2 separate regions of the Homo sapiens genome follow, and region 1 is linked to region 2. Evidence: promoter capture Hi-C in 16 types of primary human blood cells and fetal thymus (Javierre and others, 2016). All regions are on one chromosome and are shown on one strand. The core of a region is centred on a gene start or on the middle of the fragment in contact, and the rest is flanking DNA. Distances in the headings are between cores, read along the strand shown.

Region 1 (7,338 bases), core at 2,949-5,448, 1.1 Mb before region 2:
ATACAAGGAAGAAACTTACTTGGAATAGCTTATTAATAATTATTTTACATAACTAATATTTTGAATTGATAATATTTTAGATATATTGGGTTAAATAAAATATGTAATTCAATTAATTTTCTCTGTTTCTTTTTACTTTTTGTTATATGACTACTAGAACATTTAAAATTCCGTTTGTGGCTTGCATTTGTGGTTCACACTGTATTTCTATCAGATCATGTGCACTCCGTTAGAGAAACAGAAACATTTCTGAAGGCAACCATAAACCTTTGCTTCTAGAGCCCCCTGTTAGGACATGTGGAAATGATTCCTGCTTCAGGTGGGAGATTGGTATAGGCCACTTCTGACCACAATTTTAGTGTGGGCCAAGTAGAATAAAAGGACTTGGAGGAAAAAGCAACCTCCCCTGGAGGCACATGCCAAGGATTCTGAACAGCAGAATGTATGAACCAAACAGTAGCCATGAGCTTGAATTTTCAGATAAGCCCTTCAAGAAATAACTTAAATCAAGATAGTACAGCATTTCATAAAGCTTAAAGTGCTATGTAAGTGAAAGATACTAGCAATTATTCCCAATAATCTATTGACAAAATAAAATCCATCAGTGGTCAATATAAATTTTCTTACTAAGAGGTGACAATGCTTCCAATTTCCATTTTGTGTATAGTTCATCTGAATATGGTGTCATGGTAGCTCCAACAATGGAAGTCAGGGAGGCTGGCTTTCTGATTATGTTCACACTAGGATTTTCTCCGGCTCTTTGGGAATCTTTGCCAGAAGCAAAAGCAGTTTGCTGATAGTGTCAATGCTTAGAGGTGGTTTGGGGGAGCTAAAGCCCCTTCATAGTCTCCATCTGGCTCCCCCTAAGCCATAAACAGGAAATTGAAATAAAAACACAGCTTCAAAGCAAAGCTCCTACTCCCTCAACACCTTTTAGCCAGATTTCTGTGGCTAAGCCCCTTCTATCTGGCAACTCTGGAGCAGCCCTTGGCCTAATATTAACTGAGGGAGGGAAAACAATATCTATATCTATATCCACACACATATATTTGAATTTACAAAAACATAAGGCAACGATGGAATTCTCATGGTAAAAGGCCAATTTACATGAAAACAGGGCAACCTGTTGGAAACCACTACCTTTATTTAAAAAAAATACAGTTTATGCAATGGGTCAGTCATGATCAAAGAGGAGAACTTTTTCCTCTTGCTCGTGTAGGAAAGAGACTAAAAATCGTTTCACAAGTGTGTTATCACCCCAAACCCATTCCCAGGCTATTTAAGTAGCTGATAGTGGGGGATATTTTTATAAATATACTCACAAATGACAGATAAAACCCTAAGAACTGATTATCTTAATTCCCAACACCCTAAGACAGTCTTTCAGGAATAGTTTCTGATCCCCAAGCTGAATGCAAAGCTGTTTGGTGGAACTTGAAATGCTTTCTTTCATAGATATATGTTCTGCATCCTAGTGCTGACCTTCAAAAGCTGATTTAGCTCCTAACATAATCAAAAGCTCCTACCAGTAAAATAAATCAAAAGCATATAAGCCATGTGGGTTTCTACATCACAGCGTTTCTGTTGCATAAACTCCCCTGCTCAGAGTGGTATGGGAGATGCAGCCTCCCACAGTCCGACTTCATTTTATAAGAGGGCGTCTTTGAATATTCTATCTCATTCCCTCAAAGTGTAACCAATTCAGAACAGTTTCTGCCCTGACAGAGGATGGGGTAGAAGGGTGAGGACAGTGGGGACCAGGGAGAAGAGAACGTAGCTAAGGGAGTTAACTGGGCTGGGGAGGAGAGAATCATATTCAGACCTTTGGGACCCTGTGTCCCTTCCCATCCCTGAGGATGAGCACATGAAGATGTAAGAAGCAGTAATGGAGGCAGGAGATAGGATAAAGTTACTTCTCCTCCAGCTTTTACAGGTCAGACCTGTTAATAGTAGGCACTGCCCATCTCTTTTCTCCAAGATTGTGGCAGGTGGAAGTCACTATTAACTGCTTTGATGCTGCAGCATCAGTCTTGCTCTTCTGAAGATTAGGAAGTGGAGTTGCCACAACTCCCAATTCCTAGCCCCCGTAAGAGGCCAGCACATTCTCGGACATATTCCAGGCTCAGCTAAAACGTTACACTTGAGGAGACTTGAACTCACAGCCTCATATCATTTAGCAGTTAGTTAGCATCAAATAACTGCTAAAGTTGCCCCAAATCAAGGCAGCACGATGCCAGGACTTGGTCTCTTGTCCTTCAGTTCCCCAGGTAGCCCCACTCTTCCCTTCCTGAGAGGGACCAGCCATTCCTGCCTGTGGCTTTGTGCTCATCAAGTGCATAACTGTAAGCTGAAGGACACCTGTGTGTATTTCTGACAGTGACATTAAGAGCGTGTTTTGCAAGATATTACAAATGCTTAGCAAGATGTTCCTCCAAGTATTTCCTCTAGTTATCATTATGGTTTTATAAACTTTCATGGCCACAAAGAGTTACATTCAAATATATAAATTGGGAAACCTATAAACTAGATGTTTGTTGGACTTTTAGGACAAATAACAAATGCTCTAAACTTCTGCTTCAGGGACCCTTCTCATCTGGGACCATTTTCAATGGCAGCTGGAATGCTATGGGTTGGGTACTACATTTTGCCCTGGCAGGAACAGAAGGCAAGCATGGAGAACCAGCACCAGTGGATGAGAGGTACAGGGCAGCAAACTGCAGCTCCAGGTCGTCAGGCTGGAACAGTGACAGCCATCCTAAGGTGGAAGGGGCTGCCTCTTTCTCAATTACTAAGCCAAGATAGGCAACAGCGAGAAAGGGACACTGCCCAGGGCTAGGATGAGGAGATTGGCTAGCTTAGCTGAGGCCCAGGACTCCCTTTCGGACGGTCTGTATTATTGTATAAGAAACTCTAGCCTAGCAACGCCCATAAGCCAGGATAAGGAAGTGGGCTAAAGAGGAGGGGAAACTAGTGGGGAAGGCTACAGATCTTTACAAATTAGGACATATTTTTACAAGTTGCAAAAAGTTTGTAGGGCGGTGGAAAGGGTGGAGGCGTCAGGGGAGAGCATGAGAAGGCTGAGCAGAGCCGGGCTGTGGAAACGTAGGGAGTGACTTACCGTGAAAGGCAAGGAGCAGACGGCGAAGGTGATGGTCATGATAGCCAGGAGAATGAGGTGGTCCGTCTCCTCCGCCATGGACACCCTTTCCCCTCTCCTGCGGGCCCCGGGGCCGCCCCGGCCACTGCCCAGGGAAGGTCCGCAGCGGCTTCTCCGGCTTCGGCGGTGCATGCGGATGAGGTTGAGAATGACACTGAAGTTGCAGGCGAGCACCGAGACAATGAGAAGCAGCAGCAGGGTGGCGTACAGCTGCAGGTAAGCGGTCCGCCCGTGCCGGATGAAGCACCAGGTCCCGGGGCAGTACTGGACGTACTGCCCATAGTCCAGCAGCGGCAGCGAGCAGAAGAGCAGGGAGACTGCATAGATGACAGGCAGCACGGCCAGGCCCCCGGAGCGCGAGACGCGGCGCTGGTAGAAGTAGGGGTGCCCGATCGAGAGGTAGCGCTCCAGGGCCATGGCGAAGAGCATGAGCATCGTGGCCAGGCTGAAGAAGGTCATGGCGAAAGCGAAGTAGGTGCACGCGCGGCTCTCGGGCGCCAGTGCCACCAGGGTCTGGTTCCGCGCGTACGAAGCCAGTACCACTGGGCTGATGAGGCAGGTCCCGAGCAGGTCGGTGAACACCAGCTCGGTCACCAGCACGTGGAACAAGGAGAGGGAGCTCCTGCGGCCGGCGCTGCACCCCACGTCCCCCCGCCAGCGGCGCGCCAGCAGCGCCAGTGCTATGAGGTTCCCCAGCACCCCGGCCGAGAACATGACGGAGCTGATGGCTGGGCTTTCGCCTGGGGGAAGCCACTGTCGCGTCTCGCAGTCCTCAGACTGGGAGTCATTGGAGGCATTGCCCATGGTGGGGTGCCTGGAAAAGAGATGCGCCCTCCTCTCCCGGCCTTTACCTGGGAGGAAGAGGGTCTGAGAGCCGGAGCGTTCCGAGACTCAGAGGAAAAAGGGGAGGGACCGAAATCCAGAGCCCCCTTCCCGCACCCAGCGCGCCGACGGCGGCTTGCCCTGGGTCTCCCGCCGCGCGCCGAGTGGCGGCTCGGCTGCTGCATCCGAGCGGCGCTCGAGGCTCCCGCGCCTACCCGCGCCGGCCAAGGCCGGGAGCCAGAGCCTAGGGGAGCCGTCGTCTCCGCCCCCGCACTGTCGGGGGGCGGGCCCAAGAGTGCTGGCCAGGCCTTGCAAGTGCGAGTGTCCGCGAGCTGCAGGGGAGGCAGGACGCGTCACACTCGCGGGGGCGTTCCGAGTCCCTGGGGCGCGCCGGCGGGGAGGGAGAGAAGGAGTCTGAGCACCCGCTGGGCGCGGCACTGGGCAGAGGCGCGCGTGTTGCCGGTGTACTGAAGCTGCCCGCGACCGGCGGGAGCGGCGTTTCTCGCTTCCTCGGGGTCCGGTACTCGAAGCGCACGGCAGTCTGACCTCGGCTGGGAAGCGTTAAGCCCCAGCAGAGGGCTGGGAGGGAGTGCAGGAGCACTTGCGGGGTCTGCGCAGAATACACAGAAGATCGGGGCAACGAGCAAAGCAAAGCAACTCACCAAACAATGAAGTTAGGAGAACCCAATCCCGTGAAATGAGCGGAACAAGGGAATAACAGTGCAAAGGCAGCTTGAAGTAAGACCAGAATGTTTTGCTTTGTTTTTACTATTCCCAGGAAGATACACTAAGAGGTTGGGACAAAAATTGGGATGAAGCGTAAAGCAAGTGTGTCCATCCAAGGAACCAAACCACACAATGCGCACCACCGAGCGGCCTGTTGCACTGCCGCTTTGATTCGGTTACTAGCATTTCACCGTTTCCTATGTCAACAGCATAACGGATAACCACTTGTTTAAGCAACCATTAAAAAAAGAGGAGTGTGTCTTATACAGAATTGTGTTTGTGGATACAACATGAAAACCATTGCACATCACTGTTCTGTCCTTAAGCTGAGCCTTGTAAGAAAATGTTGATATTTTGTTTAGCCGTTTATCTTTACATGTTGTTAACCACGTAGTATCCATCCAGAAAGACTTGTTCCTGGCAAAGTGTATTGGTAAGTGGCCAGTTTCAGACTGGAGCTGACAGTAATGGTTTCCTACCACATATTGTCATAATTGCAGAGTCGTGAAAATGGGCTGATATTTAACACAAAACAAAACAAAACAAAATCCAGTTTGGCAGACAACATAGGTAATTGTGTTCTGTAAGAAGTCACATTCACTTGGGGAAGGGAGGCCAACTGGGAAGTGAAGGGTCTGATCTGCCTAGGGAACTGGCAAGAAAGACAGTCATAACGTGGGAGGAAGCAAAGATTGCCTGCTGAAGAGCCTATCTTGCTACAGCCTGCTTACTCTCCATGAATATTTTTTGCCAACTTTGATGATTCTGGCCTGGGGATTGGAATGCGGAGTTGGGGGGGGTGGTTCCCACTAGAACAAGCATAATTTACTGGATCGCTTGCAAAGTTTACAGGCCGGTTTTCACATGTCAGCAGGCACTACTTCAATCCCTAAACTTCTCATGGCATGGATTCCTAGGAAAGAGGATCTTAACTCCTACAGTTTTTCTTTCAAGCTGTAAACTCTGCAGGTCAGTAACAACTTATTACCAATCTTTGCCATCCATCTCTGACTATTCCCCTACTCCAACATTCCCCCATCTCACCCCAAGCAATGGGGAAACATCAAACTTAAATCAGAAGTATTTCTTAATAGGAAAACACTATGATTTATAGCATAATTCTGCACTGCAGTTTTACTATTAAATAAGGGATTTTAGATTCACTGAATTTGCACAGTGCTTATTTTCCGAATATTTTTATACCTTTTTAATTTTCATAAGGCCCCTCACAACAAAAACCTACTATTTAACCTTTCCTATATATTTGTCTCTAGCTTTTCTTTGGATGGGTACCTGGTGGCAGGCCGGCCCCTGGTTTTTGTGAATACGAGAGCAAGAGTGCAGTTGAAGATCCTCCCCCAGGCCCCTGCCCCCTTGTCTTCCTAACCCCTGACTCAGTCTTGCACCACAAGGAGTCTTGCACAGAAATATGTGGAGAGTATAGTTCAATATGTGGACAGTATAGTTCAATATGTGGACACTATAGTTGTTGATAACCAAGCTCTCTCCCCAAAGCCACCTTGGTCCTGGGAATATGCATCTCAAACATGCAAATGACCCTTGATTGGATGGACCTAGGGAAGATGCCTGATCAAGCCCTGGAAGCGAGTTATGGGACCAACATTTGAGCAGGAAATTTCATGATCTCAGGTACCTGGAAGGTGGTCTAGAATGGAGGGGTAATGGGGTCTGGGTGAATAGTGCCCTGAGGGTGTCTCACCTGTGGTAAGGTATGTGACAAGAGGAAGACTAGAGTGGGCCCTATAAATCTTGGGAGGCCAGTATCCTATTAATTACTGTGCTGCTCAGCATTGCTTGTTCAAATTACTCCTTTTAATTGCTTCCAGCATTTGGACAGAATACATACATATGTGTGTGTGTGTGTGTGTGTGTGTGTGTGTGTGTGTTTGGTTTAGCAGTTTGCTGTGTTCCCTGTTGCTAGATTGCTGAGTAGGAGAGTTGATAAGTTTGCTGTCGCTACGTAGCAACTGGACCATCACGTTTGTTCCTTTAAGTGCAAGTCTAATCTTGCTTGTCAGTTACCCCCAGTTAATTTTGTGGTTTAAAAGCTACTTCTTCCCATTTCTAATTTTAGTGTCAGCATTTTGATACAGTTTCAGTTTACATAGAGCCTAGAGTTCCTTAACAGAAAACAGATTAACACCCTCAATTCTAGAATTGAGCCATAGAGCTTTGCTAATTGTTTAGTTCCTGTTTGTGGGGCCATTGTATGTGGGGAACACTATGTGATGGTTAATTTTATGTGTCGACTTGACTAGGCCATGGGATGCCCAGGTAGCTGGTTAAACATGATGGCGGGGTATGTCTGTGAAAGTGTTTCTGGAGGAGATTAGTGTTTGAGTTGATGGACTGAGTAAAGCACATGCCCTTCTCAGTGTTGGTGGGCTTCATGCAATCCATTAGGGCTTGAATAGACTAAAAAAGTAGGGGAAGGTGAAATTCACTCTCTGCCTCACTGCATGAGTGGGGACATTGATCTCCTGCCGCTGACACTTATGGTTTTCAGGCCTTCAGACCAGGACTGGAATCTACACCACTGGCTCTTCAGCTCCCAGACTTTCAAACTTTGTCACCAGCTTTACTGGGTCTCCAGCTTGTACATGACAGATTGT
Region 2 (7,286 bases), core at 1,194-3,693:
TCCTCCCACCTCAGCCCAAGTAGCTGGGACTACAGATGCCTGCCCACACGCCCAGCTAATTTTTCGTATTTTTTTGTAGAGACTGGTTTTTGCCATGTTGCCCAGGCTGTCAGTTGCTTTCTAAAAACTTACTTTAGAATCTCTACTTAAGGAAAAAGAAAAACTACTACTCTATAGCATAATTTCAGATAGATGCTCCAATGTGGATTTACCTCATACTCAATGTTTTGTTAGTCTTGTTCTCCTTAATACTACTTCTGATTGCTGTATTTATATAGTTGGACCATAATGAGTTAAAAAATATCCTTGAGTAATACTTGACTGTATTTTGCATATACACACACGATCACTATTGCTTAATATATTGCTTATAACACTATTTTACAGGCACGATCTAAAACAAGTTACTCATGATGATGACTGAAAAAGTGTCACAGTTCCTCTCCCCTGAAGCTTTCAATGGTGCCTGAATGAAAATTCATTTCAGAATTGCAGACTACATGCATACTATGAAAATTTCCCTTTATCTTACCCTCCATATAAATGTTCTACTTTTTTTTTGAGATTGAGTCTCACTCTGTCGCCCAGGCTGGAGTGCAGTGGTGCGACCTCGGCTCACTGCAACCTCTGACTCCCAGATTCAAGCGATTCTTCTGCCTCAGCCTCCCGAGTAGCTGGGACTACAGGCGCGTGCCACCACGCCCAGGTAATTTTTTGTATTTTTAGTACAAACGGCGTTTCACCGTGTTAGCCAGGATGGTCTCGATCTCCTCACCTCGTGATCCACCGGCCTCGGCCTCCCAAAGTGCTGGGATTACAGGCGTGAGCCACCGCGCCGGCCAGTTTTGTTTTTTTAAAAAATAACACAGGACTTACTGATTTAGCCTTCTGGGTTCTCCCTTGGGGATGTCACTTTCACTGGCCTCCTTAACTTGACAACCCTTGCTGTATTCGTGACACAAGAAAACACTCACCTGAACCCTGTTGTCTTTTCATTTTTATTTATTTACTTATTTATTTTGCTAGTTGCCCAGGATCTCTTGAACCCCTGGGCTCAAGTCATCCTCATACCTCAATCTCCTGGGTAGCGTACGCCACTTCCAGCTGAACCTTTTTAAAGAAGAAGGTGTTCTAACAACAATTATTGTATGCCTACTCTGAAGACCCAAAGAAAGCCAGCACAGCAATATCTGCATAGGTTAACTAAAGTATTTAGGTATCTTGTTACTCATTTGTAAAACGTGAAAAACACCTGTCATAGAGAATTTGTAGGGAATTAAATATGGTATTCGTGTAAAGGTGCTTAGTGGTGTCCAGTACACTGTTAATAATTATGCTTTTACTATTATCAGTAAATACTGCTAATATGTATAATACCACCATCAACAACGACTTAGCATCTAAAGCAAAGACAGATACTTTATTTCCCACCGCGGCAGAACAGATATTATTAAATTGAAATCACCACACAAAATACATGATTTCGTTCGAGCAATAAATGATGACCTGGCGCTCTTGAGAGTGTATACATTAATACATTATCTTTTAATGTAATACCATTTACAAAGACCTAGGAGTCACAACCCAAGGTATTCTCTACACTACAAAGACACCCAAAGGAAAAATGAGATGAGGAGTGAAAAAAAGAGAAAGCAAAAGAGGAGGCAAAAAGAGAAAACGAAAACTTAAAAATAACCCAACTTGAATTGACTCAGTATTTACAATAAAAAAGAAACGTACCCAATCCATTAAAAAAAGCTTAAAAGCGCCAAATTCCAACACCATAAAGAGACTATCTTTTAAGGACAGACAAAACGAGAGGAGAAATTTTGCTCAATATTCTCTTATGTAAAATGTGGTGAAAATAAGTGTAGAAGTCTGTGAAGAATCACTTTAACTACTTAGACACGAGTCGGACACCTCCCTCCCCGCGCCCCAGTCGCATCCTCAAAGTCATGAAAAATGTCAGAATTCGCATTGGCACTAACCCTTTGGGCGCACCACAACCCAAGAAACGAAACGAGGGTGCACCCCAGAAGAAACTTAACATTCACGGGTAAGAGACGAGGGGGTGGGACCAAGCTGGCGGCAGATCCCAAGAGTTTGGGGAGCTGCAGAAGTCGGGGACGCTCGCTCCGCAACTCGGAGGCGCAGTCCTGGGGAGCCTGCGACCCGCACGAGGAACGTGCGGGGTGAAGTCGTGTGTCCAGGCACGGACGTAGGACCCTGGCCGCCCCGCACTCACAATTCTATCATCCAGTCTCCTTCCAGCAGTTCTCTCCAGTTCTCGTCCGTGATGACGCGAACGTTGCTCCGCCGCCCGTGCGTCCAGGGAGCACCCCAAAGCAACAGCACCAGGACTGCCAGGGGAACTGCAAGACTCCCGGAGGGCGCCATTTCGCCGCTTGCCCACCTCACAGGGAGCGCGGTCGCAGCTCCCACTTCCGCCCTCGCGGGCTGCTCAGCGCAAGCGCACTACGGTGCTGCGAGGAGCGCCTGTCTAGAGGACTCTCAATGCGCATGACAGGGGTCTGATCCCAGTGAGTGGTGAAGTCGGGAAAGAGGGAAGAACGACTCTCCGCAATGCGCATGACAGAAAAGCGGCTGCTTCTACCGCCTAGGGTGTCCCAATATTGTGGGGGAAGGAACAGAGCAAAAGGAGGCGTGGTGTAAAAAGTGGGGCGGTGCTTTGAGGAAGAACGGTTTAAAAGACCCTCCCAGGATTTTGGCGCCAAATGGTTAGCGTTTACAAGCAAATTGGTAAGTTTATAATGTGCTAAAGCAGTTTTCCAATTAAATGTCCTTCAGAGTTCTCATTTGTTTTCTTTGAAACATGTAGTAAAGCTAATGGATTTTATAGGAGTCGGAATATTGGTTTACTTCTGAGAGATTATAGACAGGGAAGGTGCAGAGGAACATTATGGTTATGTTGGATGTGTTGGAGGTGTTCAACATCTAGATATGAACAGTAGTTACATGGGCGTACGTATATGATTTTTTTTAAAGAAGGATCAAGCTGTACATTTTAAGACAGTGCACTTTATGCACTTTCAGGTGTATGTTATCTCTCAAAAAAAATTCAGTAGGTACAGAGATCCTAGGTCAGTACTTCAAAATGGAACCAGACACATAGGCTTGTAAGATATTTGAGTTTTTTCTCTCAAACATTCGTAAATACAAATGCAAACCAAAATGTGCACTGCCCCATCAGTCAAATGAAAATAGTTGCAGGTGCGGTGGCTCACGCCTGTAATCCTAGCAAAACAGGGAGGCCAAGGCAGGCGGATCACTTGAGGTCAGGAGTTTGTGACCAGCCTGACCAACATAGTGAAACCCCGTCTCTACTAAAAATACAAAAATTAGCCAGGCGTGGTGGCAGGCGCCTGTAGTCCCAGCTACTCAGGAGGCTGAGGCAGGAGAATCGCTTGAACCCGGGAGGCGGAGGTTGCAGTGAACCGAGATCATTCCACTGCACTCCAATCTGGGCTATAGAGAGAGACTAAGTCTCAAGGAAATAGTTGCCACTATCTTACCTCACCTTTTCAACTTAATTAACCCCAATTAGTCCCCTTCCCCACCCCTCCACTGAATAGCCCTCTCAAGGACACCAGCGACCAGCAAGATAAATCCCAATTGTTTCTTCTCAATGCATCTAGCATGACTCCTAGCCCCATTCTACCACACCCTTGAAACACTTTACTATCTTGCTGTCTGGGCAGCTCGCTTTTTTTTCTGTCCTACAGTAGCTGATTCTTCTCAAACTTCTTGGCTGGTCCTCCTTTACTTCCGGACATCGGCATCTCCAGGATGCTTTACTGCCCCCCGCCCCCCATCTCCCGCCACCTTTCTCTTCATATCATCAGGCTCTCATCTTTCTGGGAACTACAGGCATATGTATTCAACTGTATATCATTCAGACTCTGATCTTTCTGGGAACTACAGGCATATGTATTCAACTGTATATCATTCAGACTCTGATCCTTCTGGGAACTACAGGCATATGTATTCAACTCCTTGCTAAACATCTCTTGGGTATGTAATAGCTGGTGAAAGGAAAAGAAATCTTGGGGCCCCAAAATCATTAAGCTAAAGGGAAAAGTCAAGCTGGGAACTGCTTAGGGCAAACCTGCCTCTCATCCTTCTTCTCACTGAGATAAATGCATATCTGATTGCCTCCTTTGGAAGGCTAATCAGAAACTTAGAAGAATGCCACCATTTGTCTCTTACCCACCTATGACCTGGAAGCCCCTTCCTGGCTTCGAGTTTGTCCCGCCTTTGCTTTGAGTTGTCCCACCTTTCCAGGCCAATACAATGTTCATCTTACATATGTTGATTGATGTCTCATGTCTCCCTAAAATATATAATATAAAATCAAGCTGTGCTCCACCCACCTTAGGCACATGTCCTCAGCACCTCCTCAGGCTATGTCATGGGCGCGCATTCTTAATTTTGGCAAAATAAACTTCCTAAATTGACTGAGACCTGTCTCAGATTTTGGGGGTTCAGAAGCTCAAACATCAAACGGCCAAAAAAGATAATTCTTGATTCTTCCTCTCCTGGTCTTCCATCCACTAAAGAGCCCCGAGGTTCACCAGGTTTCTCTAGCCAAACATGTACATGTTAATTCTTTATTGTTCTCTCTCTTCACCTTCTCCTCTTGTAACCTATGAGCAAATCTTGTAAACGTTACCTTCAAAACGTATCCTGAATCTGACCACCAATTTCCATCTCAACAGCCAACACCCTAGTCCAGAGTTTTCTTGCCTTGAGTACAATGAGAACTTCCTAAATTTGTGAGAAAATAAATTTCTATTGTTTAAGCCACCCAGTCTATGATATTTTATTATGGCAGCCCAAGCTAAGACACTAGACCTCCATTACAATGTTGAATAGAAATGGCAAGAGTGGCCAAACATACTTATCTTGTTCCTGTTCTTAGGAGAAAAGCGTTGTCTTTTACCACTAAGTATGATGTTAATGTGAATTCTAAATAGTTGCCTTTTATACAGGTGAGGAAGTTTCCTTCTATTCCTAGAAGGTCGTCTGTTTTTATCTTGAAGAAGTGTTGAATTTTGACAAATCCTTTTTCTGCATTTATTGAAATGACCATGTGGTTTTTGTCCTTTACTCTATTGATATGGTGTTTTTTTTGTTTTTTTTTTTTTTTTTTTTTTGAGACGGAGTCTTGCTCTGTCATTAGGCTAGAGTGCAGTGGTGTGATCTCAGCGCACTGCAACCTCCGCCTCCTGGATTCAAGCAATTCTCTTGCCTCAACTCCCGAGTAGCTGGGATTACAGGCACGTGCCACCACGCCCAGGTAATTTTTATATTTTTAGTAGAGACGGGGTTTCACCATGTTGGCCAGGATGGTCTCTTTCTCTTGACCTCATGATCTGCCTGCCTCAGCCTCCCAAAGATACAGTGTATTACATTGATTGATTTTGGGACATGAAATCAACCTTGCATTCTTGGTATAAATCCCACTTAGCCATGGTGTATAATTCTTTTTATATATTGCCACATTCAGTTTGCTAGTATTTTGTTGCATATTTTTATGTCTATATTCCTTAGAGATATTGGTCTGTAGTTTTCTTGTAATGTCTTTGGTTTTGCTATCAGGATATAACTGGCCTCGTAAAATAAGCTGGGAAGTGTTCCCTCCTTTTCTATTTTTTGGAAGTGTTTGTGAAGAATTTGTATTAACTCTTCTTTAACTGTCTGATAGAGTCTAGCAGTGAAGTCACCTAGGCCTGGGCTTTCCTTTGTAGGTAGCTTTTAAATTACTAATTCAATCTCTTGTTATAAGTCTACTATGATTTTCTATTTCTTCTTGAGTTGGTTGTGGTAGTTTGCATCTTTCTAGGAATACGTCCATTTCATGTAAGTTGTCTAATTTGTTGGCCTAACGTTGTTCATAGTATTATAATCCTTTTTATATCTGTAACATTGATATTAATGTCCTCTCTTTATTGCTGGTTTTAGTAATTTGAGTCTTCTTTCTTTTATTTATTGGTCAGTGTTATGGTTTGGATATGGTTTGAGTTTGTCTCCATCAAAACTCATGTTGAAATTTGATTCCCCATGTGATGGTATTGGGAGGTGGGGCCTATTGGGAGGGATTTGAATAAAGGGGGTGGATCTTGTGAATGGCTTGGTGCTGTTCTTTTTTAAAAAAAATATATAGGGTATCTCTCTGTCACTCAGGCTGGGGAGAGATGGTGCAATCATGACTCACTACAACCTCAAACTCCTGGTCTCAAGTGCTCCTCCAGTTCAGCCTCCCAAGTAAAGGTGATAGCCTCAATGCTGGCCCTGGTGTTGTTCTCATAGTGAGTGAGTTCTCACTCTGATGAGACTGGATTAGTTCTCTTGGGAATGAATTAGTTCCCTTGAGAATGGGTTGTTATAAAGCCAGGATACCCCTTAGGTTTTCTCTCTTTGCACTTGTCCGCTTCCCTTTTGACCTTCTGTGCCATGTTATGACCCAGCACAGAAGACCTCACCAGAAGCCAGGGCCATGCCCTTGAGCTTCCCAGCCATTTGCACCACGAGCTAATAATCATGACCTATTTTGTTTATAAATTACCCAGCCTTCTGTTATAGCAACACAAAACAAAGTCAGTATAGCTAAAGGTTTCTCAATTTTGTTGACCTTTCCAAAGCACCAACTTTTAGTTTTGTTGGTTTTCTCTACCATTTTTCTATTCTCTTCTTGATTATTTCCTTCTTCTTTATGCTTTGGGTTTATGCCCCCTTTTACCCTGATTGTTTTAAGATGAAAGTTATGATTATTGATTTGAGATCTTTATTTTTTTAACGTATGTGTTTAAGCTCTAAATTTCCCAACCCTGCTTTAGCTGTATCCCATAACTTTTGTTTTGTTGTGTCATCATTTCATTCATCTCAAAGCATATACTAATTTTCTCTTTTGATACCCTTTTTTGTCAATTGGCTATTTAGGAGTGTGTTTTTCATTTTCACGTTTGTGAATTCCCAAATTTATTTTTGTTATTAATTTCTAATTTCATTCTATTGTGGTCAGAGAACATACCTTGTATGATTTCAATCTTTTTAAAATTTATTGAGATTTGTTTTATGGCCTGGTATATGGCCTATCCCAGAGAATATTCCATCACTTGAGAAGAATTTGCATTCTTCCATCACTGGGTGTTCTATAGTTAGATGTCTGTTAGGTCTGATTGGTGTATAGTGTTGTTCAAGTCTTCTAGTTTCTTGTTGATATTCTGCCTACTTGTTCTGTCCATTGTTGAAAGTGGAGTATTGAA

Evidence for each region. Contacts are between HindIII fragments. The CHiCAGO score rates a contact against its expected background, and 5 or more counts as called.
Region 1: the fragment with the promoter of PTGER2 here is called in contact with the fragment with the promoter of TMX1 in region 2 in 1 of 17 cell types (activated CD4 T cells); the score reaches 5.7 in activated CD4 T cells.

The regions. Positions count from the first base shown.
Region 1 is chr14:52,311,172-52,318,509 of GRCh38, reverse strand. PTGER2 (prostaglandin E receptor 2) reads right to left here and starts at 4,198. Exons shown (of 2, transcript NM_000956.4): 1 at 3,119-4,198. The coding sequence starts at 3,961. RefSeq lists enhancers at 3,304-3,443, 3,464-3,613, 3,848-4,407, 4,408-4,968 and a silencer at 4,134-4,243. The HindIII fragment of the contact is 17,361 bases long and covers 535-7,338 here.
Region 2 is chr14:51,235,404-51,242,689 of GRCh38, reverse strand. TMX1 (thioredoxin related transmembrane protein 1) reads right to left here and starts at 2,443. Exons shown (of 8, transcript NM_030755.5): 1 at 2,246-2,443. The coding sequence starts at 2,397. RefSeq lists an enhancer at 2,165-2,404 and a silencer at 2,265-2,607. The HindIII fragment of the contact is 7,115 bases long and covers 1,761-7,286 here.